Regions from separate parts of the Homo sapiens genome. Here regions 1, 3, 4, 5, 6 and 7 are each linked to region 2. The links are contacts of gene promoters, found by promoter capture Hi-C in blood cells and fetal thymus (Javierre and others, 2016). All regions are on one chromosome and are shown on one strand. Each heading gives the region's core, a stretch centred on a gene start or on the middle of the fragment in contact. The rest is flanking DNA. Distances are from core to core; before and after follow the strand shown. Region 1 has its middle 47 kb from the start of SLC28A3-AS1. Region 2 holds the start of IDNK (IDNK gluconokinase). Region 3 holds the start of SLC28A3-AS1 (SLC28A3 regulatory antisense RNA 1). Region 4 has its middle 23 kb from the start of SLC28A3-AS1. Region 5 overlaps SLC28A3 (solute carrier family 28 member 3). Region 6 overlaps SLC28A3 (solute carrier family 28 member 3). Region 7 overlaps SLC28A3 (solute carrier family 28 member 3).

Region 1 (2,918 bases), core at 268-2,767, 610 kb before region 2:
TTTCCAGAGTTGTACCAGTAATGTCTGACCCCCTTTGGGGATTTTCTAAAGGACTCCTCATGATAAAACCCAGCTATATTGAGCAAAATGTGTCTGGAAAACATCAAAGAATCAGGCAGTGCAATAGGCAGGAATATCGGTCCTGACTGAGACTAGAAGTATTGTGGGGACCGATAGCCACAATAAGAACAAGGATACAAAGATAGAGGCATCTGAGTTCCACCACCTACGTTATTATGGCTGAGCCTCCCCTCATTGTCTTTTATCAGGCTGTCTCTGACACTGCCACTGTTGTCAATAAAGCTGAAAAAAAAATTATGCCATAAACAGGAAAATTTTGAAAATGTTCAAGTTTACCACTGGAGGTCTCTTCCAAAGCAGTGAGATTCAGTAGTTGACTACTACCATTTCGAATTCTTTTTTTTTGTTCCAGCCCAGGCTGGAGTGCAGTGGCATGGTCTCAGCTCACTGCAACCTCCGCCTCCCGGGTTCAAGCAATTCTCTTGCCTCAGCCTCCCAAGTAGCTGAGATTACAGGTGTGTACCACCATGCCCAGCTAAGTTTTGTATTTTTAGTAGAGACAGGCTTTCACCATATTGGCCAGGCTAGTCTTGAACTCCTGGCCTCACGTGGTCCACCACCTCAGCCTCCCAAAGTTCTGGGATTATAGGTGTGAGCTACCATGCCTGGCTTGAATTATTTAATATTATAATTTATTGCCTGTGTTTGGAACATATGACAAATATCCCATAAGTGCAATAAAATACAATAGGTTCTCTGGGTTCTGAAGAGGACTGCTGCTACAGACAAGTTCAACTTCTGTAATTGTATAAATTCTTCATGATACAAGATTAGCAGCATCTCCAATAACAATAGCTTCTAATTATTGATTGGGGGTATTTTCATGTCCTTTACAGAGATTTTTATACATAGGTTAGCTCAGATTACTTCCTAAGTCTGTTTCAGAGAAATGATACAAACACATGGTCCTTCTCTGATTGGCTCATCAATGCCTCTACCAAAAGACCTGAGAATATTTGGTTCAGTAATTTCTCTCATGGGAGAAAGTATAACATTTCTCTGCAGAATTCTCTCCTCAGTGTTGAGCTTGTTTTCCCTTCTGGGAAACTTCTTCCCTTACAGGAAAACACATCAGCAAAATTTTTCTGGCTTTGCTACCTCTGTAAGCTTCCCTAGGCAATAGTAAATACTATCTTCACTAGAATTCACTTTTCTGTCCTGGCACTGAGTCCTACAGGCACTGCTTGTGGTGGTTTTACTCTGTCAACTTAGCTAAGCTGGAGCTATGCTTCCCAAAAGTCCTTTCCCCAGATGGTTCCAAGTGAGGATTGCACACAAGGAAGATTTGCATGCGGTTTGGAAGCTACATAACAGCAGCCGTTATGCTTTAAGTGCCTTGGAGGCCCCAGGGGCTGATCTGCTGGCTAGTCTTGTTAGCATGGGGCAGAGGCAGGGCACACAGCTCCTTCAGCTCCCACTAGATCAACTCCTTCAGCTTCAACTAGTCCTGGGCCAGACACATGCACAGCTCCATAGCAAAAGGCACCGATTGTTTGATAGGTCATCAGCACCACTGGAGTTAGACATCAGTGAAACACAGATTCAGGCTCCAGTTTGCCCTTTTGCGTTCTACTTGACTATTTCCCTCTGCTTCACAGCCAGCTTTTCTTCCCAACTGCCTGCCCTGCTGACCTACAACTCCCTCAGGCCAACCACAGCTCCCCTTCATGGCCCCTTGTTGGTGATTTTTCTATGATGCTACCCAATCTCCTTTCAGAACTATACTTGCTTAGCCCTTGCACAGTTGCATAAAGTCTAAGCTTTATAACAAATCCCTTATTCATACCACTCATAGTGGTTGTACTTCCCAGACAGAGCTCTGATGCTCTACTGCCAAGTACGGTGACAGGGAATAGAATGACAAATGAACCAGAGGAATTCTACTCGAAATCTCAGCTAGTTAATGACTGCAGTCAAATCAACATTCTCTCAAGAGCACTGGCAGAAAGCAAATCAACACACCTGACACCCTTGTTCCTAAGTCATCGAAAACATTCCCTTTTTTATGCTTTCTGATCCAGCAGTTCCACCTCTAAGAATTTATCTCAAGGAAATAACCATAATACTTTGATAAATTATTTGGTGAACCTTTCAAGGGACATATGAGTTAAAATCGATGGTCCCTGAACTGCTACGTCAAGATGGTTCGTTCTGCTGACCGCAGAACTTTTTGCTTTGCTGAGTGTACAGAGATGAATGACTCTCAACTCTGGACATCATAAGGGACATTTAGAAACTGTCTGGGAAAGAGAAAAAAAGAGAGAAGAGGCCAGTGTCTGGAAAGGAGAATGGGTACAAAGCACAAATATCAAATGGCTAAGTTTCTGTTTCTCCATGAAACATTCATGTCTTCTAACTCACAGTGGAGTTGGCTCTGTTTGGAGGTAAGTCAAAGCTCTGAGCCCTGCTTCAAAATGCACATAAGGCAAAAATGGGAAAAAATAGAGAACTTTGGGAAACAGTCTAAGTGTTGAACAATTGGGAATTATTTAAATGAATTGTGTCATTTCTACAAAAAACATACCAAGACATCATCAACTGTATTGTAAAAGAATGTTTAATGATATGAAAAAACAAATCTGAAGTGAAGAGAGCACATTTCAAGTAAAATGTAGAGTATTAACCCAGAAAAAAGACAAAGTGACCAATGAATGCCGGCAGCCGCTACGGTACATAAGGCCGATTTTTATTTTCTTCTTTTTATTTACTTATAATGTCTTAAGTTTCTATCATAAACATGTATTTCTCTTGTAACAAAAAAGCAGCTGTATGCATATTTTTGTAAATTGGGTGAGATTTATTGAGATGGAGCAAAGACACTCCCCAGCTTTTAGGGG
Region 2 (3,166 bases), core at 201-2,700:
GCCACTCCCCCAGAGGAGACATCCCTGACCACTCTGCCTGGCACTCTTTGTTCCCCTTACTCCAGAGCATCTATCACCAACTCACACACTACATATATTCATTTACTCTGTCTCCCATACCAGAATGTAAATCCTTTGAGGGCAGGGATTTTATCTGTCCTGTTCGCTATATGACAATGACATAGAGTAAGGATTGAGCTCAATAATTACTGAGTACATGAATATCACAAGCTATACATCATAGGGATTAGGCCTCCCTCATCTGATTCAAGACTCAGAGGGGGTACATGAACTGCCCAGGCTCACACAGCCAGACAGCAACAGAACCAAGACCTAGGGCTCTTCACTCCTGTTACATCACACCATGGCAATGATTTTACATTCTCCAACTGATTCAAATCATATGGCAGCTAGGGATTTGGGGGCTCCATGTTTTATTTCAATTGCAGTTCAAGATTTCTTTTTATCTTTGTGGCTGAGAACCCTACAATAATTTTGGAAAGCAAAACCCATCTACCTGGAGTAAATCTTTAATATACACCTGACTACACAGGCCACAACATGGGCCGTTCCTGATTCAGAAAATTCTAGAAGGGTCCTATAGGCCCTTGAAGGTTATGATGTTTTAGCTGATCAAGTTCTGTCCTTTGCTGCCTGTGGTCGAATGGTACAGCAGCTGTCTTTTCTGATAAAGGGCACAGTTAGACTTTGGTTTAAACAGGAAGCCAAATGTTAACTCCTCAGTCTCCAGGTTAGCACACTGGGCTACCTCTGTGGTTTCCACAATTCTCTTCTTTCTTTCCAAACCCTCAGGAGCCACCCTCCATATTAACGCTGTCTCCTTCCAGGTTAAGCTGATGAAAGGAAGGGGAAAACGATTCACTTTCCAAAATTGAATCGGAGAAGTCCAGGGCCTCATAGGAGGAGGCCGCTGTGTGTCCAGATGGCCAAAGGTCTGTGAGAGCCTGGGCCGTGGTTTGCGTCCTCTCGCTAGAGGCCGTGCGCCCTCCCGCCTGGCCCCGACAAGGCGCCCCGAAACCTAGCCCCGCGCCGCTCGCTAGGCCTCCACCTGCGCGGCCCCGCAGCCGCCTGTTCAGGAGCGGCTTCCTCCCTGAGCCTGCGGTCGCCGCAGCCTCCCCGTCTTAGAGCGGGAACCCGGAGCTCGGATGCGGTCCCAGGATGGGCGCCCCGCGAGCAGGCTGGAGGGCGGGGAGAGGGCGCGGCAGCCGCGGGCCTCGGTTTCTTCATCTGCAAAGGGAAGGGTGGGGGGTCCCCAAGACCCCAGTCCACCGGCAGGGACGGCGACGCGTCCGGCCTCCGCCGCGCCCGCAACACTTGTCCCGGGCGCCCCCCGCCCTCTCCCGGACCTACTTCCCCGAGCCGCTCACGCCCATCACCAGCAGCGCGCCCGGCGCCGCCATAACCCAAGCTCGGCTCCTTCCCGTCGCCTTCCGGGCCCCGCCGGCCCCGGCCTACCCGGCGCTCGAGGGGCGGAGCCGCTCTCGCCCCGGCCGGGGCAGTGAGGGCCGTGCCCCTCTGCGCCCTCCCCGTTTTCCCGCGCCCCTTTTCCATGCTTTCCTCCTCCCTTTCCCAACCTCCCGGCCTCTCTCTCCTGCCCCTTCTTTTCCTCTCCCCTCCCCTCCCTCTTTCCTCTTCCCGGAAGTGAAGCGCGCGCCCGGCCTGGCACTCGCGTCTCCCTGGGCTGGAGGGAGCCGCCCAAAGCCCCGCCACCTGTCGTTCTACTGCCCCGGCCCCTCTTGGTTCCAGAGGATCCTCACCCTGGCAGGCCGGATCCTCATCCACCCATGGAAAGCATTCATTCATTCATTTATAAAAATGTTCTTGTAAAAAGAATAAACAGAAAATAAGACTCATAATTTCCCACACCAGGCAGCAATAAGCAGCACTTCCTAAAACGACTCCCCTTTCCCCGCGCCCCGTCGTAGATAGATGGGTATGAGTATTTTGTAAAACTGGGATCAGGCCGTACACAGCGTTTTGTAATCTGGCCTTTTGTCACAATAATAAATGGCGGCCATCTTTTGGTGTCAAACTTAGGGTTGAGTGTTGACCGTAGCAGCATATGTCTTGGCTGTATGGCTCTGCTGTTAAATCCAGCACTGGTTGGGGCTTTAAGAGGAAGGAGCACCACTTTAAAGTGTCCATTTGCTTTAAAACAATGTTAATTATGTGTCGTTTGAACTATTTGATTAAAAGCACTTCTTTTTTTTTTTGAGACGGAGTCTCGCTCTGTCGCCCAGGTGGGACTGCGGACTGCAGTGGCGCAATCTCGGCTCACTGCAAGCTCCGCTTCCCGGGTTCACGCCATTCTCCTGCCTCAGCCTCCCGAGTAGCTGGGACTACAGGCGCCCGCCACCGCGCCCGGCTAATTTTTTTTGTATTTTTAGTAGAGACGGGGTTTCACCTTGTTAGCCAGGATGGTCTCGATCTCCTGACCTCATGATCCACCCGCCTCGGCCTCCCAAAGTGATTAAAAGCACTTCTAACCGCATTTGGCATCACCTCCTTTGGTCTTTTGTTAACCAAGGTAGGTATTACTCTGTGTCCTAGAAAACAATAAAAGTGACATAAAAGCATTTATCTAATGAATAGTTCAATTACCCCTGCACTGCCTTTGTTTTTCATATACTTAGCCCGAGTAGGTGAGATTTCAATCTGGATGGGGGCTGTACAGGTGAAGAAATTGAGGCTTGGAGAGAGGTCTTACAATTCAGTTATGGTCAATACACATTTCTTGAACATCTACCATGTGCTGGTTAATATCATATTAATATTCATTTAAAAGATTACCCTCTAGGCATTCTCAAGCTTGATAAGAGGAATAGATGTGTATGCAAATACTCTTAACTCGTGCCCTGCTTCGCTAGCTCAGTATGAAAAAAAAAAGCTCATATTTCTTTCAATGTTCAAATCAGAATGATTAGCAGAAAATCTGATTCTTCTCCTTGGATTTCTTTCCCCAGACATGTCCAAGGATCTTAAACTTGCTGTGCTGCTCAGGGTGGTGGCAGGAAACAGCATGCTCAAATTGGGGCAGGTGAACAGGATTTAACAAAGGGACTATTAGCACAGGTGTGGGTAGGGTCAGAAAAAGCAACTAGGGGCAGAGTCCACATCTGAGTAACCGAGAAGTGTTTTCACTCTT
Region 3 (3,061 bases), core at 91-2,590, 660 kb before region 2:
AGATCATGCCACTACACTCTAGCCTGGGCAAAAGCGCAAGACTCTGTCTCTAAATAAATAAATATATAAATACATAAATAAAACTAAAAAATAATAAATAAATGGGACTCTGTTCCACTTCTAGGCATACTCTCCAGCACTCCTGTGGACATCAACTGCCATCACGTTTTAGAGAATGCCTTCAACTCCACTTTCCCTGGAAACACAACCAAGGTGATAGCTTGTTGCCAAAGTCTGTTGAGCAGGTATTGTATTCTTGATTATAATTTCTTTATACTCCATTAATAATCAATCAAATCACACCTAAATATCCACTTACTTTTTTTTTTTTTTTTTTGAGACGGAGTCTTGCTCTGTCTCCCAGGCTGGAGTGCAGTGGCGCAATCTCCGCTCACTCATCGACTTAATTTTATAACTTTATGACTCTATTTAAAAGTAAGAACTTATGCAGTGATTCTAACCACCTTTCACTCTGACTTTTCTCAGATAAGGCTAGCAACTATAACACTAGCTAGTGCTACTCAAGCATTTAATATGCACCCAGCTGTGTGTTACGCACTTTGTATGAATTAGCTCACTTAAACCTTGCAACTACTGTATAAGTTGGGCACTATCTTTTTTTTTTTTTTTTCATTCCACAAAATTAAGGCTTAGGGAAGCTATGTCTACTCCAGCAAAATTAGCACAAGTACAAGTGAGATACAAAATTCAGGCTGATCTTCCTGCTAAGCCTATGCCCTTAACTGCTACCCTCTGCTGGCTCCCCTTCAAGGGGATCCAGGCTGTCCAGACAACACGATGATCGTCTATGGTGAACAAGAAACTACCAGTGACCCATGCCAGCCACCCCCACCCTGTACAGTTTTAATTTGCAAAATCAGTGTTCCCACACAAGGTGCCATCCTTAATGTGCAAGTGTTTTATAAGGATTGATTCTATCCTATCTTTGCTTGTTATGGAGGAAATAGGGAAAGTTCTTGAGGACACCCAGAATTTAGGAGCCAAAACAAATTCCCCAGTGTCTCTGTCCTTTAATCCACCCTAACCAGAATGTGAGCAAGAAAATCAGCTTCCTGCCCTGAACTATTTTTAATGTCATTGTCTGCTCACCTACTGTTTCTGCCATCTATGGCTCATGTAACTGTTTCTTTCCACTTTCCACCAGCACTGTTGCCAAGGGTCCTGGTGAAGTCATCCCAGGAGGAAACCACAGTCTGTATTCTTTGAAGGGCTGCTGCACATTGTTGAATCCATCGACCTTTAACTGCAATGGGATCTCTAATACATTTTGAGGTCAGCCACTTCTCCAGTGGAACTCTGAAGTACAGATGCTGAATTTTCTGCTTTGGAAAGAAAAAAAAAAGAAGCTATTGTCCACAGATTGATGCTTCCATAATGGAATCAGCTTTAATTGCAAGGAATGAAGAAAAACAAGAGTGGACCTTCAAAGCTACAACATTTTCCTCCTCCCCTCCCTCCCCACCAGCCCCTTCCCCACCAAGAACTGCTATGATGTCCCAAAGTGAGGTGTTGTTGATTCCAGTCTCAATGGGATTTTCTGACTTTAATGTTTGCAAGGCATTTCACCAGAATACAGCTATAAACGGCCGCTCCCAACAACTGGGCTCTGACTCACCCACACCCACTTAGTGTCCACTAAGTAGTCCAGGGTGACTCAGTTTAAGCACATCTCAGGTGAGGTCACTCTGCATATACCTTGGCTTACCTGAAATAGCCTGAACTTGAATCTCACATAAGGGAAAACTAGTCATCAATCACCAACTCATTGACTACCCTCAGGAAGTCCTGCAGAAATCAAGAGTCCTTGAGGAGAACACGTGGATCATACCAAAACCAGGGTTTAAATCCATTCTGCTTAAGAGTTCTATCAGTCAGTTTAACCATAAATTACGCTACAGAAACAAACAACCCAAAAACCTCAGTGGCTTACAGATTTATTTTTCACTCACATGTTTGTAATGATCCATCTTGGTTGTAATCCATATTGCTTCAGCACCCAGTCTAAAGGAGCAGCCTCTAAGGGGGGCATGTTGGTCTTAAGAGGGAAAAGAAAGGTGGGAACCACATGATGGCTCTTTCATCTTCCGCTAGGAAATGATACCCTTTACTTCCATGACATTCCATTAGCCAAAACAAGTCCTGTGACAGGCACGATGTCAGTCACCACAGTTAAATTATCCTGTCATAGGGAGGGATAGTGAATATTTTGCAGAAGTAATATGATACACCATAAGGGTACATAATATCCATGTCTCCCTTCAAGGAGCCATCCTGTTGTAGGCCATAACGGTAGGCCTATTCATCTGCACATTTGGTAATGTATTCCTGGTGACAAAGCAGCTACTCTTCAATCAAAAGCCGTGTAAGAAGCAGTTGAGGAAAAAAAGTCCTGGTTGAGCTCTGAAAACCTTGCGTTGATAATTTCATTGACCAGGATGGCATCAGTATCAAACTTGAAGAATGGGTGTCAGTGTCTAAGAAAAAGATTCCAGAGACAATGGTGGTGTGCTCTTTAACGAAATGCCCATCACCACTGCTCTTAATAGCATGAAGACCACATGCTGTGAGAAAACACAAACATCAATTACCAAGTCAAGAAACAGACACTGAATGTGAAAAAGGTTTTGAAATACCTTAAGTAATTTATTTTGTTTCTATTTTTCCTTCTGTTTGTGTACAAGAGTAATTTAAAAGAAAAAGCTATGTGAAAATAGTTGGGGTTTTTTGTGTGTTTTGTTTTTTGTGGTGGTGAAGGAGGAGGCCTAATGTCCAGAGGACTGTTTATCCCTGAAGTATGATATACTAAAATATTTCTTATTATTTGTATCAATTTTCCTTGGAGCTCAATGTGCCCTTGCAGTCTTCAGACTTTATTTTAGGAAAATATATTTGCATGTTTTCCCCCCATTCTCAATGTTTGGTGTCCTGGTTCATCATACCCCACAGAATGTTATGTTTATGTATCATACCATTCCTCTGTGGACATGCATTTACTTTGTTTACAGGTTTTGGTTTGGGGGTTCTCTTTTTCCTACTCTGG
Region 4 (2,964 bases), core at 444-2,943, 630 kb before region 2:
CCCGAGGACTCGAGGGAGACTGAGCAACTGGGAAAGTCAGCACCGGGTGTTGTGTCATTTTTTTTTTCCTGAAAAGCTCTTCTCGGGAGGTCCTCAGGGATTCTGATTTCTCTTTTAACACTCATTAGTCAAGGTGATAATGCCAGGCTCACACATATAAGTTCTCCAGAAATAAGAACTGCCTGTAATCTTCCTCAGAGGAGCCTGATCTAAGTATCTACTTGAGCTACAATCCCATAGGGTTGGATATTGTCACAGCAACGAAACACCAGCAGGGACCTTGATCCCATCTCCCCACCTACCTACTTTAATCTCTGTCTCGGTCCTGGGGAACAACAATTCTGTGATAAGGACGTCATGCAGGTGAAGTTGTTTAATAGAGCTATGGTTGCTGAGTTCAGTGCTAGATAGGGGACCCCAGATGGGGCTCTCTCAGGTACACATCCCATCAGGCACCCACTGTCACTGTGATTTGGTGGTCTTGTTAGCCATGCACAGTATAGGTTGTGCTGTTTGCTTTTTTGAGGTAAGAGGGGCACCGTATTTCAGACAGCAGGAAAAAACCTGAATTTGTCAATCCTATACATACAACTGCATTTATACTCAGGAGAAATATACCTCTGAAGAGGTTTGCCTCTGTGCCTTTAAGCAAGACATTCGCAGAATAAATCAGAGCTGAGGTGGCTCTGTCTGAGACTGTCAGGATGGCCCAATTTCCAGAATAATAACAGAGATGTGCTTGGATAAGGCAAATTGGCTCAGGACATGAGAGGCAGAGAAAATACATAACACAGCCCTTGGCTAAGCGGAAACTCAATAACTACCGTCTGAATGATGCAGCCAGGTAAATCTCCTAATGGACACCAAGTTGAAAATTAAAAGGAAAAAGAAGAGCACAGTGTTTAGAAAAATGGGTCCTACAGGCTCTTCTCCCTGCTGCTTCGATGCTAGGAAGGTTCTTCTAGACTGCTTTTAGTACAAGAAGCTTGTACAACCAGTTCGGCTGGAAGTGTGCCTGCCACCCTGCCACGGCCCTCATTAGATGACTCTGACCTGTTGAAAAGCTGAAAATAGAACATTGAGCCATTTTCTCTGCAGCTCAACTGTTATAATTGTCTGTCTTTCTAAATATTAGCAGTACCCTAGTTATACCGTCATTTTAAAAATACTTGTCCATTTTTACCTTTTCTTAACACCACTGACCACCACACTACTTTTCTTCAGGGAAAGGTTTTTTATGTAAAGAGAGGAGTGACTTTCATTTTATTTCCTTTCTCCCTAGACAGCTAGAGATATTACTTTAAAAACAAATTCTTGAGGGCTTTTATCCTTGGTTTAAATCACCTGGAAAAATCAGTAGGGAAGAATAGAGTATTTCCTTAGTTACCAATTGGCTGTAGTAACTAAAGCCTGCAAAAATCCATCTCACACTTCCTATTAAAATTTTATAAGCATTAAAAATATTCACTTGGATGCTGTATGGTGTTTTTTCTTTTGCGACCAAGCTGAATTTTTTTCACTCTGACTTCTATAGCCTGGCTGATTTTTCTTATTTACTTACTTAAAATTTTTTTAAATTAATAAGTGAACTCCTGGCAGGGAACAGGGCTCACAACTGTAATCCCAGGGCTTTGAGAGGCTGTGGCAGGAAGATAGCTTGACACCAGGAATTTGAGACCAGCTTGGGCAACATAGTGAGATCCCATCACTAAAAAAAAAACTTTTTTTAATTAGCCAGGTGTGGTAGTATGTGCCTGTAGTCCTAATTACTCAGGAGGCTAAGGCAGGAGAATCGCTTGAGACCAGAAATTCAAGGCTGCAGTAAGCTACGATCACACCACTGCACTCCAGCCTGGGTGACAGAGAGAGACCCTGTCTCCAAAAAAAAAAAATAATAATAAATAAATAAATAAATAAATAAGCGAGCTCCCAGTTCTGTTCAATAAACCAATGGCCTTTGAATTTTCCAATAGGAGTCTCTTCCGAATCTGGAACCAAGCCTTGGCAACACAGAGTGTTGGATGGACAACACACATAATAAACTGTTTACCCTGAAATGCATGTTTCAAAGGCTTCTCTGCATTAGATGACAGACTTCCTACAAATCATAACTAATATTCATGTCAACTTCCCTTTTCCAGCTTTAAAGCTGATACAAATGCCCTCTCTGGTATCTGTGGACTAACATTTCCCTAGCCCCTAGTTCTCACTTTCTATGTGCTTAGCTTAAAGGGCCTGACTCCAACTGGACTGAATATTTTTTTGCAAATCTATGGGCTTTTGAACATCGGACTTTTCAGGAATCTTATTTAAAGCACAAATTTCCAGGCCTCACCTTCCACAGACTCTGATCTGGTAAATCTTAGTAGGATCCATGAGTCTGCATTTTCAACAAGCTTCTGTCCCCACCCCAAGTAAATGGTCCTTGGAATGCACTTTGACCAACATTTCTCCAAGAATGTCAATCTCCAAAGCTTTTGATTAATGCTGTTTTCATTCATTTAGTCAACAAATGGTGGCTAGGTACCCACTATGTGCAGGATGCCACTTGAGGGACAGATAAATTTCATATGGGCCCTGCCCTCAAGAAACTTACAATCTAATGGGAGAAATGAGACGTGAACATCAATAACTAACCAAAGGAGTAAGAGGTGGTCCTGAGAGAGACAGATAAAATATTATAAGAGTTCAGAGGAGAAAGAGGTAACATTGAGATAGAAGGGATAAGGCATGGTTTTATGGAGAGATGAGGTATGCATTAAACCTGAAAGTACAAAGTATTTGGGCACATGGAGGTAGAAAAGCAGAGTCACTGTCAAACATAGCAGGCGCGAGCAAAGCCACAACGTGGGGGAGGATGAGGCTGTGTAGGGAAGAGGGAGGCATTTAACTTGCTTGGAGCACAGGGTGCAGGCAGGGGCAGAGAAGCAAAGGAGCTTATAAAAGAGAGTTGTAGCCAAATCC
Region 5 (3,370 bases), core at 675-3,174, 710 kb before region 2:
CCAGAGAATGGAAAGGATGGAATTGGATAGAGTCAGAGGAAGTATGGCAGCAAGAAAATATATCTGCAATAGAGAAGGTCCATGTCACAGCAACTGGCTGCTCCCAGGGAGGAGGGCACACAACGGTGGTGATCCCTCACTGTCTTCTAGCAAAACTGCTGTTTTGTGGGGGAAACATCCCCCTACACCTGCCCCAATAAAAAGAAGGAAAAATGAAAGGAAGCTTCCTCCTAGTTCTGTAAAATTTCCTGTCATCCTTACTCATTGGATTGATTGAAATTTGAATTTCTACATTTCAAAATCAAAATAGTGAAGACAATTTGTCTTTCAAGAGAATCAGAGGCCTCATAACTCCTGCCAAGTTAATAAGTATGAGTCTTACCTTGTTTGACATTCAGCTCTCCTGCTACATTATCTTCTTTAAGGAAAATTAATTGATTGTAAAATATGTGCTACTTCACTCGCATTATTAAATATGCATTAACATGCCACCAGGACTTCCAAATAAGTTAGGATGCTTACTTATTCACCTTGTCCTAGTCTGTGAATTGTGCTAGAAATTCATTTTTCTTCTTCAAATATTAAGAGTGCCCTTGGTAGACCAAAGTTCTAATTTTACTAAGTAGAACTACTTTCACAGCTTGAAATGCTGATATGGGTTCCCAAAAGGCCTGTGCCTGTAAGACCTGGTGCAGGTGCAATGGTTATGCATATCTATGGATTACCTGGACAGGCTCTCATCTGGACTGTTCCTCAAAGAAGGGAGCACCAATTGCTGTTTTCATGGAGCTAGTACTCCAGTGGGAAAGGTTAAACAGGAGCACAAAGTCAGTGATATGGGTTATAAGAGAGAAATGATCTCACCTCCAAGAAAGGATTTCACAGCTAGAGCACACTTCATACATGAGAGTGGATTTTGTAACCAACGATAGAAATGAATGTTAGGGTTTTTTTTTTCTAATCTCATTTTATTGTACCTCTAAACGTTTTCTATGAATAAGGAACTTATTTCTCATATGGCTGAGGATGGAAATGACTTCATTCAACAGTAGTTGCAAATAAGACGTTTGCTATTTATGAAGGAAGTTCGGATTGGCATTTAAAGTATTGCGTGTATGTGGAATATCTAAGGATTTCTTATTTTATTTTAAAATATTTTTTAAACCTTAAAACAGTCAGCAAACTGGCTCTTGATTTTGTGCAAGATGTTCCCATCAGTTCAGGAAAAATAACTGCCTGAAAGGACAAAGTACACACACACACGTGTGCAAACACTCACACCCACATACGCATACACACACGCGCGCGCACACACACAGGCTAGCATCCCCAGGCCTCAAGGTTCTAAGCAGGGCATCTCAAACCCAGCAGAGTATCATACCAACAACACCCACACCTAAAAACAGTGACTGGGTTATTTCTATTTATTCAGTAGAATCATCAACTGCCCCCTAGATATGGCCGCCTCTAAGAAGGGATACCAACTCAAGAAAGAATAATATGCTCTTCTTGCCCTCAAGGAGAAGGACAGGCAGAAATAAGCATGCAATTACAATATAATTGATGTTAAGGAAAATGGCGGAGGTTTGCACCAAGTGCATTGTATTCTTATATTTATTATTTTTTATATTTTGTCTTGCTATCTTACCAGGGCTGGTCTGAAACCCTGGCCTCAAGCAATCCTCCTGCTTTGGCCTTCCAAAGTGCTGGGATTACAGTCATGAGCCACAACACCCAGCCAGCACCAAGTGCATTGTAAATAATATATAGCTGGAGCTGAGCTGACTGAGGAGTCTGTGACAGCATCACCAAAGGAGGGAGAATTTGATTAGGGCTTTAAGGATGGTCAGGTCACAGTAGGAGGTGGGGTGGGCAGAGCACTGCAAGCAGAGAGAACTATCTGTACAGACTCAGAACCCTAAAGGAGAAGAGCACATGAGCCTGGGATGGAGGAAGGGAACACGGTATAGGGAAAGGGGGCAGGCTGGCATCAGGTCAGGTGGCCTCTGCGTGTGCTAAGGCATTTTAGAAGGAATCGCTCAGAATTTACGCAGTCAAATTGTGATTTTTTTTTTGAGACAGGGTCTCACTCTGTCACCCATGCTGGAGTGCTATGGTATGATCTCAGCTCACTGCAGCCTCAACCTCCCAGGCTCAAGCAATCCTCCCACCTCAGCCTCCTGAGTAGCTAGGACTACAGACATGCGCCACCACACTTGGCTAGTCTTTGTTTTGTTTTGTGTTTTAGAGATGAAGTCTCACCCTGTCGCCCAGACTGGAGTGCAGTGGCATGATCTTGGCTCACTGCAACCTCCACCTCCTGGGTTCAAGCAATTCTCCTGTCTCAGCCTCCTGAGTAGCTGAGTTTACAGGCATATGCCACCACACCTGGCTACTTTTTTTGTATTTTTAGTAGAGACAGGGTTTCACAACGTTGGTCAGGCTGGTCTCAAACTCCTGACCTCAAATGATCCGCCTGCCTCAGCCTCCCAAAGTGCTGGGATTACAGGCGTGAGCCACCGTGCCCGACCTAATTCTTGTATTTTTTTGTAGAAATCGGGTTTCACCATGTTGCCCAGGCTGATCTCAAACTCCTGAGCTCAAGTGATCTGCCTGCTTCAGCCTTCCAAAGTGCTGGGATTACAGGTGTGAGCCAACTGCACCAGGCTGATTTTTTTTTTTTTAATATTACTTTGGTGGCCCCATTGAAAGTGCTTGGAAAAGGAGAGGGATTTGTGTGTGGCTGGGACATCCGTTGGGAAGTTACTGTCATAATCCAAACCAGGCTAAAGGCAGTGGATGCAGACACTGGGACGGAGGTACTAATACTGATGAGGTGACCCCTCCACAATGAAATTCAGGAGTAAAGATGAGGGCCTAAATGCTGCTCTGGCTCTGAAGATTTCTGTTTTCTCCTCTGTAAAAGAGCATAATAATGGTACCTATCTTGGGATTGTTGAAATAATTAAATAAGCTAATATTATATATGTATAATGGACATTTTATACACACACACACACACACACACACACACACACGTATATACATACTTGTGAAAACAGTGCCTGGCACATAGTATGAACATAACAATAGCAGCTTTTGATGCTGAGCAGCTTAAGGAAAGTGTGGAGTCAATGTTTCCAGCTTGGGATGTCAACTTGGAAGTGATTCCCTTTGTTTATTTATTGCTGTTGTTTTAAATAGAGACAGGGCTTCACTCTGTCACCCACGCTGAAGTGCAGTGGCACAATCATAGCTTATTGCAGCCTCAAACTCCTGAGCCCAGGCAATCCTTTGACCTCAGCCTCCTGAGTAGCTGGGACTACAGGCACGTGCTACCACAACTGGCTAAGTTTTTTTATTTTTTATA
Region 6 (3,184 bases), core at 33-2,532, 690 kb before region 2:
AAGTTACATGAACCAAGTGAGTCAAGACCAATAGATAACGATCAAGGACTTCTAAAATACAGTCTTTGAAAATGCAATCATTCCTAGGCAAAATCCATGCAGTCGAAGAATAACATTTAGAGAAAGGGCCTTAAAACATTTGACATTGGTAGATGGTAAGAGTAAAAAAAGAGTTGAAGTGGGGTATGATCCCAAACAATTTTGAGAGATCAGATTCACCAAACAGATGTTGATTTTGATAAGTCTAATTTCAAATACAGAGGACAACACGACTGTAAATGCCCCAGAACAAGCGAGAAGCAAACTAAACCATGAAATTAACTTAATAGTCAATGAGCACTTACTATGTGTGCCACTGGATGGAGCCACCCAACTTTGTTAGGTAGGTACTGCCTCCATTCCCACAAGAAGCAAGACCACTGAATGAGTGCAAGACCACTCATGCAATTTGCTCTGGCAACCAGGCCAGAGCAAATTCTATAGTGAAGAAAGGCTCTCCTAGCACAGTGGTGGTACCTCTGCAGCAGAAAAACCCCCACCACAAGAACTGAGAAATGGAAGCCAGGCTGTGTGATTACAGCACAGTGCCAGGGAGAGGCTGAAGAATGTCAAACCAGCCATGATGACAAGACATGTCCACAGAGGCAGGAGTCCCCACCCATGTTACTCAAAGGATATATTCCACTTAAAACCAGCGTACAGGGCAGGAAGACCACTATTGTGGCTTGAGAAATGACCACAGAGCCTAGGTGTAGCTAAAAGTGGCCACAAGCTTCTCTGGAACTTTCAACACTTCTATAATTTATACCTTTGTCTTTTAATATCTGGAGTTCAAATCAGGCTTTCTAAGTTCTAATTTCCAAACGGAATTTAATTCCTAGGCACACTACTGTGTCTTTTGATCTTCACCAGGCCCAAAGAATCACTCCTCTATAGGCACAAGATGGTCTGGGGAGGGACAGTCTGGGCTGAGATTCTACCCCAGCCATTTCTGGCTACACAACCCAAGTCAAGTGATTTACTTATCTTTGCCTCAGTTTCCTCATCTGTGAAAATGTGGATCATGGTACCCACCTCATAGGCCTCTTGGAGTTGTTGTTGTTGTTGTTGTTGTTGTTGTTTTGAGACGGAGTCTTGCTCTGTCGCCCGGGCTGGAGTGCACTGGTACGATCTTGGCTCATTGCAACCTCCACTTCCCTGGTTCAAGCGATTCTTCTGCCTCAGCCTCCCAAGTAGCTGGGACTACAGGTGCCCGCCACCACGCCCAGCTAACTTTTGTATTTTTAGTAGAGACGAGGTGTTACCATATTGGCCAGGCTGGTCTCGAACACCTGACCTCATCATCCGCCCGCCTTGGCCTCCCAATGTGCTGGGATTACAGGCATAAGCCACCACGCCCAGACAAGAGTTTTACACAGTGTCTCCTGCCTACTAAATACTGTATCATTTGGTGCAAAATAAAAGCAAAAACCAAAAGTAACAAGAGAAAAGTTAGTTTCATCCCAATAAAGTTGAGGTGGATGGTACAGAGCCGGGGTGAGCCTCCTGCTCAAGGCTTCCAGGGACCCAAGTTCCTCCCAACTCAGCACCCTGACATCACAAGGATGTGGGCCTTGTATCCATGGTCCAGTTGGAACCATCCTCACACTGGGCAGCAAGACAGAGGAAATGACAAAAAGGAACAAGTGCACCTGCCAGCCATCCCTGGCGGAACATTCCCCGAGCTGCCCCCAACAGGGCACCCTTTCTACTTTCATTTCGTTGCCAGAACTTAGTTGCAAGGGAAGCTTGGATATGTAATCTTTTTCCTAGGTGACCATGTGTCAGCTAACATTCTTTGAAAAGGGATACCACAAATAGGGGAGTCATTTTAGAAATTTCCAGTGTTCTAGAAGTTATTATATGGTTTAGAAAGTGAATGAAAGGAAGAAAATAAAAATGCCTCTGTCCATCTCTGCCTCCCTCTAATAGCCACATAGAAAGTGCAAGATCAAAGAAATGGTGGGAAACAAACCCCAGGCACAATGTACTCCTGGTTACTAGGCTGTCCCTTCAAAGGGGGCTCAATCAGGACCCTCATCTTTTAGCACACCTAACAACTAAAACTAACTAGAGAAATTAAATGTGTAAGCTGTAAACGGCCTAGACATACTCACAATGCAATTCCCTCACCTTTCTTACACATTCAACAGAGGGATAGATTTTACCATGAGAACGCAGTCGTGGTTGTAGGGCGTTAAGTGTGCAAAGGTATTTAGTAATGTGAGTTGCTAAATAAATGGAAAGAAACATTGAGCTAAGACATTATCTGGGGCCCCATATCACAGCCCCACGACTCTAATTTAAAAAGAAGAAGAAAGACAGTTGTCTTAATGGTCATTTTCCAGGTACCAGTCAATATCCACAATAACCCCACTAATTCTGTTGGAAATCCTCAAGTGGGAGATATTGTTCTTCCAGAAAATACTAAAAGGCCAAGGCGTATACTCTGTTGGGGGCCAAATAAGACTATTACACAGTGGAGAACAAAACCACACGTGCTCTTGTTGCCACTTAAAGGAGTGCCCACTCTATCCCTCAACACACACACCTTCCACTTTCATTAACTTTAAAAACGTAGGATCCACCCGTGTTCCACCAGTAGTTTTCAGATCCTGCCACCAGGTGGCAGGAGGAATCAACGTCAAGAAGCTGAATCTCCTAATAGAATTAGAAAATGTCAGGATTCCGTAAGGATCCGCAAGAACCCCAAATCCAAACTGTGTTGTATGAATGAGGGAGTTAAGGCTTGAGAGAATGTGGCCTGCTCAGTAGGGACCCTAAGGACTAGCCCCTCAGTGACCTGTGTTCTGTTACTCCACCAATTCATGTTTGGTTTTATTTTTAACTTAGTATTAAGGAACATTTTAGCATCCACCAAAGTAGGAGAATAATAAAATGATTCTCCGGGTACCTGTCAGCCAACTTCAGCAATTAGCAACATTCTGTCATCTTCCCATACTATGTATATTTTTTCTTTTCATGCTGTTTGTTTGTTTGTTTTTTGAGACTGAGTCTCGCTCTGTCGCCCAGGCTGGAGTGCAGAGTGGTGTGATCTCAGCTCACTGCAACCTCTGCCTCCCAGGTTCAAGCAATTCTCCTGCCTCAGCCTCCCAAGTAGTTGGGATTACAAGCACCTGCCACC
Region 7 (2,965 bases), core at 93-2,592, 680 kb before region 2:
GAAATCAAAGCCTAGATGAGGCAATGACTCATTTGAAATGTATCCAAATGTCCTCACAAACTGCCTTAATGTCAAGTGTATTAAATGATAAAATGTTGTCCAAAAGATGTTGAGCATATTACGTTCCATGTGCTATATTAGGAAGAGACACCTCCATGCCTACGTATTAGGAAGTAGTTAGAAATATAGGATAGAGTGAAAGTTTTGTCATAGCAGGATGGCTTTCACTCTCCCTCTGACCTGTCAGTGGGAGGGCACCATGATCAATCAGTAATGTCTGTCCTGGCACAAGATAGGGAACAACACAAATGCCATCTAATCTCAGTACCTGTAAATAAAGAATTGGGTTATAAGTACAAACTGATGGAGATTGCTGATTATGTGTCTGTAAAGAGCTTTTATTTTTACCAACTTTTTTTCTTACACAAGTTGTACCCATTCTCTTTACAATTTATTTACAAAATGAGGATCATAGAACATGGGAGGCTGAGCACTCTTTTTCATGACCCATGGGGCTATGGTCAAAATAAAACTTAATTTTTTTCATTCATCATTCTTCCAATTTTATTCAATGGGAGATATCTACCCTATATTTTATAAAACTGCCAAAAGCCCATGACCCTTCTGAACACTCTTAGTAATAGTCCAATGTTTACAGCCTTTTCTTTTTTTTTTTTTTTTTTTTTTTTTGAGACAGAGTCTTGCTCTGTCACCCAGACTGGAGTGCAGTGGCACCATCTTGGCTCACTGCAACCTCCGCCTCCTGGGTTCAAATGATTCTCGTGCCTCAGCCTCCCAAATAGCTCAGCCTCCCATGTACCGCCATACCCAGCTAATTTTTTTGTGTTTTTAGTAGAGACGGGTGTTTCACCATATTGCTCAGGCTGGTCTTGAACTCCTGGCCTCCAGTGATCCTCCTGCCTCAGCCTCCCAAAGTGCTGGGATTATAGGTGTCAGCCACTGTGCCCAGCCTATTTTTTAAATTTTTAATTGTTGTGGGTATGTCGTAGGTGTATATATATTTACGGGGTATATGAGATATTTTGATACAGGCATCATGGATATTTTTTAACATCAGAATATGCTGTCCCCTACAGTAATGAGAACTGTGAACATGACCCAGTGCCCTAGTTTTCCTCCCTAGCCTGGGCCTGAGTGTCCCCTTTCTCCTTGTTACTTGCTCCCCTGCCAGCCTCAAAGCCAGGATCAGCCTGGCTACCTGCTATGGATATGAAGCTGGCCTTCTTGGGAGGAAGGGCCTGTGAAGTGTTAGAGAGACCCTTTCCCATAGGACCCTGTGTCCTGCAGCAACTGCTCAGAGCTTTTCCTTCAGCCTCTCTCTGAGGGACCTCCTCTCCCTTCAGGTGGCCCCCTGAGCAGGACCCAAGACCAGTTCTCTCCCTCAAGACTAACGTGGGATCTACCAGGAAAATTCACACATCCTTGGCCTATTAAACTGGGCTTGTGCAATCCCAACACTGCAGGCTTTCTGGCTCTGCTGTGCAAGCCGTGAGTCCTGAGTCAGATTTGTCATGCTTGCTGGGCTCCCCAGAGGAGCCAGAACTTGCCCTAACGTCTGATCTCCCTCTCGGCCGCTGGTGAGGTCCCCCAAGGGCAGATAACATATTCCAAGTTCTTCCTTAAATGGAAGCAGGTAACACCTCACCCATCCCCCAAAACAAAGGTGAAGAATCCCAGTAGCTCTCTTAAAGAAATCACCAGACATTCCTCTCCAAACATGCTATCTCCTCTCTGGCCCCTTTGTGCATCCTTGAACAGGTGAAGGGCCCAAGAGTTGTAGAGTAAGGAGACCCAGTACTTAATTTTTTAGCTATTTGCCTTGATAGCCACAATCAAAAAAATCTGTTGCAGTTTCTAAACGCACAACCTACTGGTGCCAGAGTATATTCATCTTGTTTCTATGTTTCTTTGTTAATTTAAGCCTGATGGCTGGGAGTGGTGGCTCGCACCTGTAATCCCAGCACTTTGGGAGGCCGAGGCGGGCAATCGCCTGAGCTCAGGAGTTCAAGACCAGCCTGGCCAACATAGTGAAACCCCATCTCTACTAAAAATACAAAAATTAGCCAGGGGTGGTGGCAGATGCCTATAATCCCAGCTACTGGGGAGGCTGAGGCAGGAGAATTGCTTGAACCCGGGAAGTGGAGGTTGCAGTGAGCCAAGATCGCTCCATTCTACTCCAGCCTGGGCAACAGAGCAAGACTCCATCTCTCAAAAAAAAAAAAAATTAAGCCTGATTATGATTCTCAAGTTAGCACAACAAATGATGCCAATGCCTCCTTTCCCCTTCTCTTAGGGTGATCTGGAGCTCCCTGGTCCTAGCAGTTATTTTCTGGTTGGCCTTTGACACTGCCAAATTGGGTCAACAGCAGCTGGTGTCCTTCGGTGGGCTCATAATGTACATTGTCCTGTTATTTCTATTTTCCAAGTACCCAACCAGAGTAAGTATCCAGTTGATCTTTTAGGTTCTTTTTTCTTTTTCTCCCCATGTGTAAATTGCTCAAAATACTGATTGTGAGAGAATTTAACTATTGTTCAGTACTTTTCTTACCTTGATGGGATTATTTAACGTGACCAGGGTGCCCTATCTTCCTGAACTTTCATGGTACTGTTTGTTACTATTTCATGCTCCATTCTCAGTAATTTTCCAGTTACATAACCAGTGAGACGTTCTCTCCCTGTCAAGTCTAATTTCTTCTCGCATACCCTCCATCAAACACACAGAGAAAACTCATCCATTTTGATCCAGATTTCCCCAGACCAGTAAAAAATCTAATAGTCCTCCATTGGATCCTGCAGTTCATCGAAGTCCCATGCAGTTTGGGCATTTATACTCCAAAAATTTGTCCTTATACAATTTTCTTTTTAATATTGAACTCAACTCTTATCCTAGTTCTGTCCACTGGTAACCCGTGAAATGGGCAAGAATTCTGAGACATCAAATCTC

The links. The method cuts DNA at HindIII sites, captures the fragments that hold promoters and counts their contacts. A CHiCAGO score of 5 or more calls a contact.
Region 1: a contact is called between a fragment that was not itself captured here and the fragment with the promoter of IDNK in region 2, in 1 of 17 cell types (naive CD8 T cells). The highest score is 6.5, in naive CD8 T cells.
Region 3: a contact is called between the fragment with the promoter of SLC28A3-AS1 here and the fragment with the promoter of IDNK in region 2, in 3 of 17 cell types (total CD4 T cells, activated CD4 T cells and monocytes). The highest score is 6.5, in total CD4 T cells.
Region 4: a contact is called between a fragment that was not itself captured here and the fragment with the promoter of IDNK in region 2, in 2 of 17 cell types (non-activated CD4 T cells and neutrophils). The highest score is 5.8, in non-activated CD4 T cells.
Region 5: a contact is called between a fragment that was not itself captured here and the fragment with the promoter of IDNK in region 2, in 1 of 17 cell types (neutrophils). The highest score is 8.8, in neutrophils.
Region 6: a contact is called between a fragment that was not itself captured here and the fragment with the promoter of IDNK in region 2, in 12 of 17 cell types (activated CD4 T cells, neutrophils, naive CD8 T cells and 9 more). The highest score is 12.5, in activated CD4 T cells.
Region 7: a fragment that was not itself captured here is called in contact with the fragment with the promoter of IDNK in region 2 in 6 of 17 cell types (activated CD4 T cells, neutrophils, non-activated CD4 T cells and 3 more); the score reaches 10.5 in activated CD4 T cells.

Annotation. Positions count from the first base shown.
Region 1 is chr9:84,229,487-84,232,404 of GRCh38, reverse strand. No RefSeq gene overlaps it. Among named protein-coding and RNA genes, the nearest start is that of SLC28A3-AS1, 47 kb to the left of the region's middle. The HindIII fragment of the contact is 653 bases long and covers 1,191-1,843 here.
Region 2 is chr9:83,621,427-83,624,592 of GRCh38, reverse strand. It overlaps IDNK (IDNK gluconokinase), which reads right to left and starts at 1,450. Exons shown (of 5, transcript NM_001001551.4): 1 at 1,372-1,450. The coding sequence starts at 1,421. RefSeq lists enhancers at 846-895, 916-1,045 and a silencer at 1,226-1,755. The HindIII fragment of the contact is 10,566 bases long and covers 1-2,831 here.
Region 3 is chr9:84,276,449-84,279,509 of GRCh38, reverse strand. SLC28A3-AS1 (SLC28A3 regulatory antisense RNA 1) reads right to left here and starts at 1,340. Exons shown (of 2, transcript XR_001746802.1): 1 at 1,111-1,340. It overlaps SLC28A3 (solute carrier family 28 member 3), which reads left to right. Exons shown (of 18, transcript NM_001199633.2): 17 at 125-245; 18 at 1,166-3,061. The coding sequence ends at 1,292. RefSeq lists enhancers at 923-2,122, 2,255-2,806. The HindIII fragment of the contact is 13,311 bases long and covers 1-3,061 here.
Region 4 is chr9:84,253,195-84,256,158 of GRCh38, reverse strand. No RefSeq gene overlaps it. Among named protein-coding and RNA genes, the nearest start is that of SLC28A3-AS1, 23 kb to the left of the region's middle. The HindIII fragment of the contact is 1,411 bases long and covers 988-2,398 here.
Region 5 is chr9:84,335,381-84,338,750 of GRCh38, reverse strand. All of the region lies in intron 1 of SLC28A3 (solute carrier family 28 member 3), which reads left to right. Among named protein-coding and RNA genes, the nearest start is that of SLC28A3, 3.7 kb to the left of the region's middle. The HindIII fragment of the contact is 3,398 bases long and covers 226-3,370 here.
Region 6 is chr9:84,314,940-84,318,123 of GRCh38, reverse strand. The region is part of intron 1 of SLC28A3 (solute carrier family 28 member 3); the gene reads left to right. Among named protein-coding and RNA genes, the nearest start is that of SLC28A3, 24 kb to the left of the region's middle. The HindIII fragment of the contact is 1,015 bases long and covers 775-1,789 here.
Region 7 is chr9:84,299,075-84,302,039 of GRCh38, reverse strand. SLC28A3 (solute carrier family 28 member 3) reads left to right here. Exons shown (of 18, transcript NM_001199633.2): 6 at 2,315-2,459. Among named protein-coding and RNA genes, the nearest start is that of SLC28A3-AS1, 22 kb to the right of the region's middle. RefSeq lists an enhancer at 1-52. The HindIII fragment of the contact is 9,450 bases long and covers 1-2,965 here.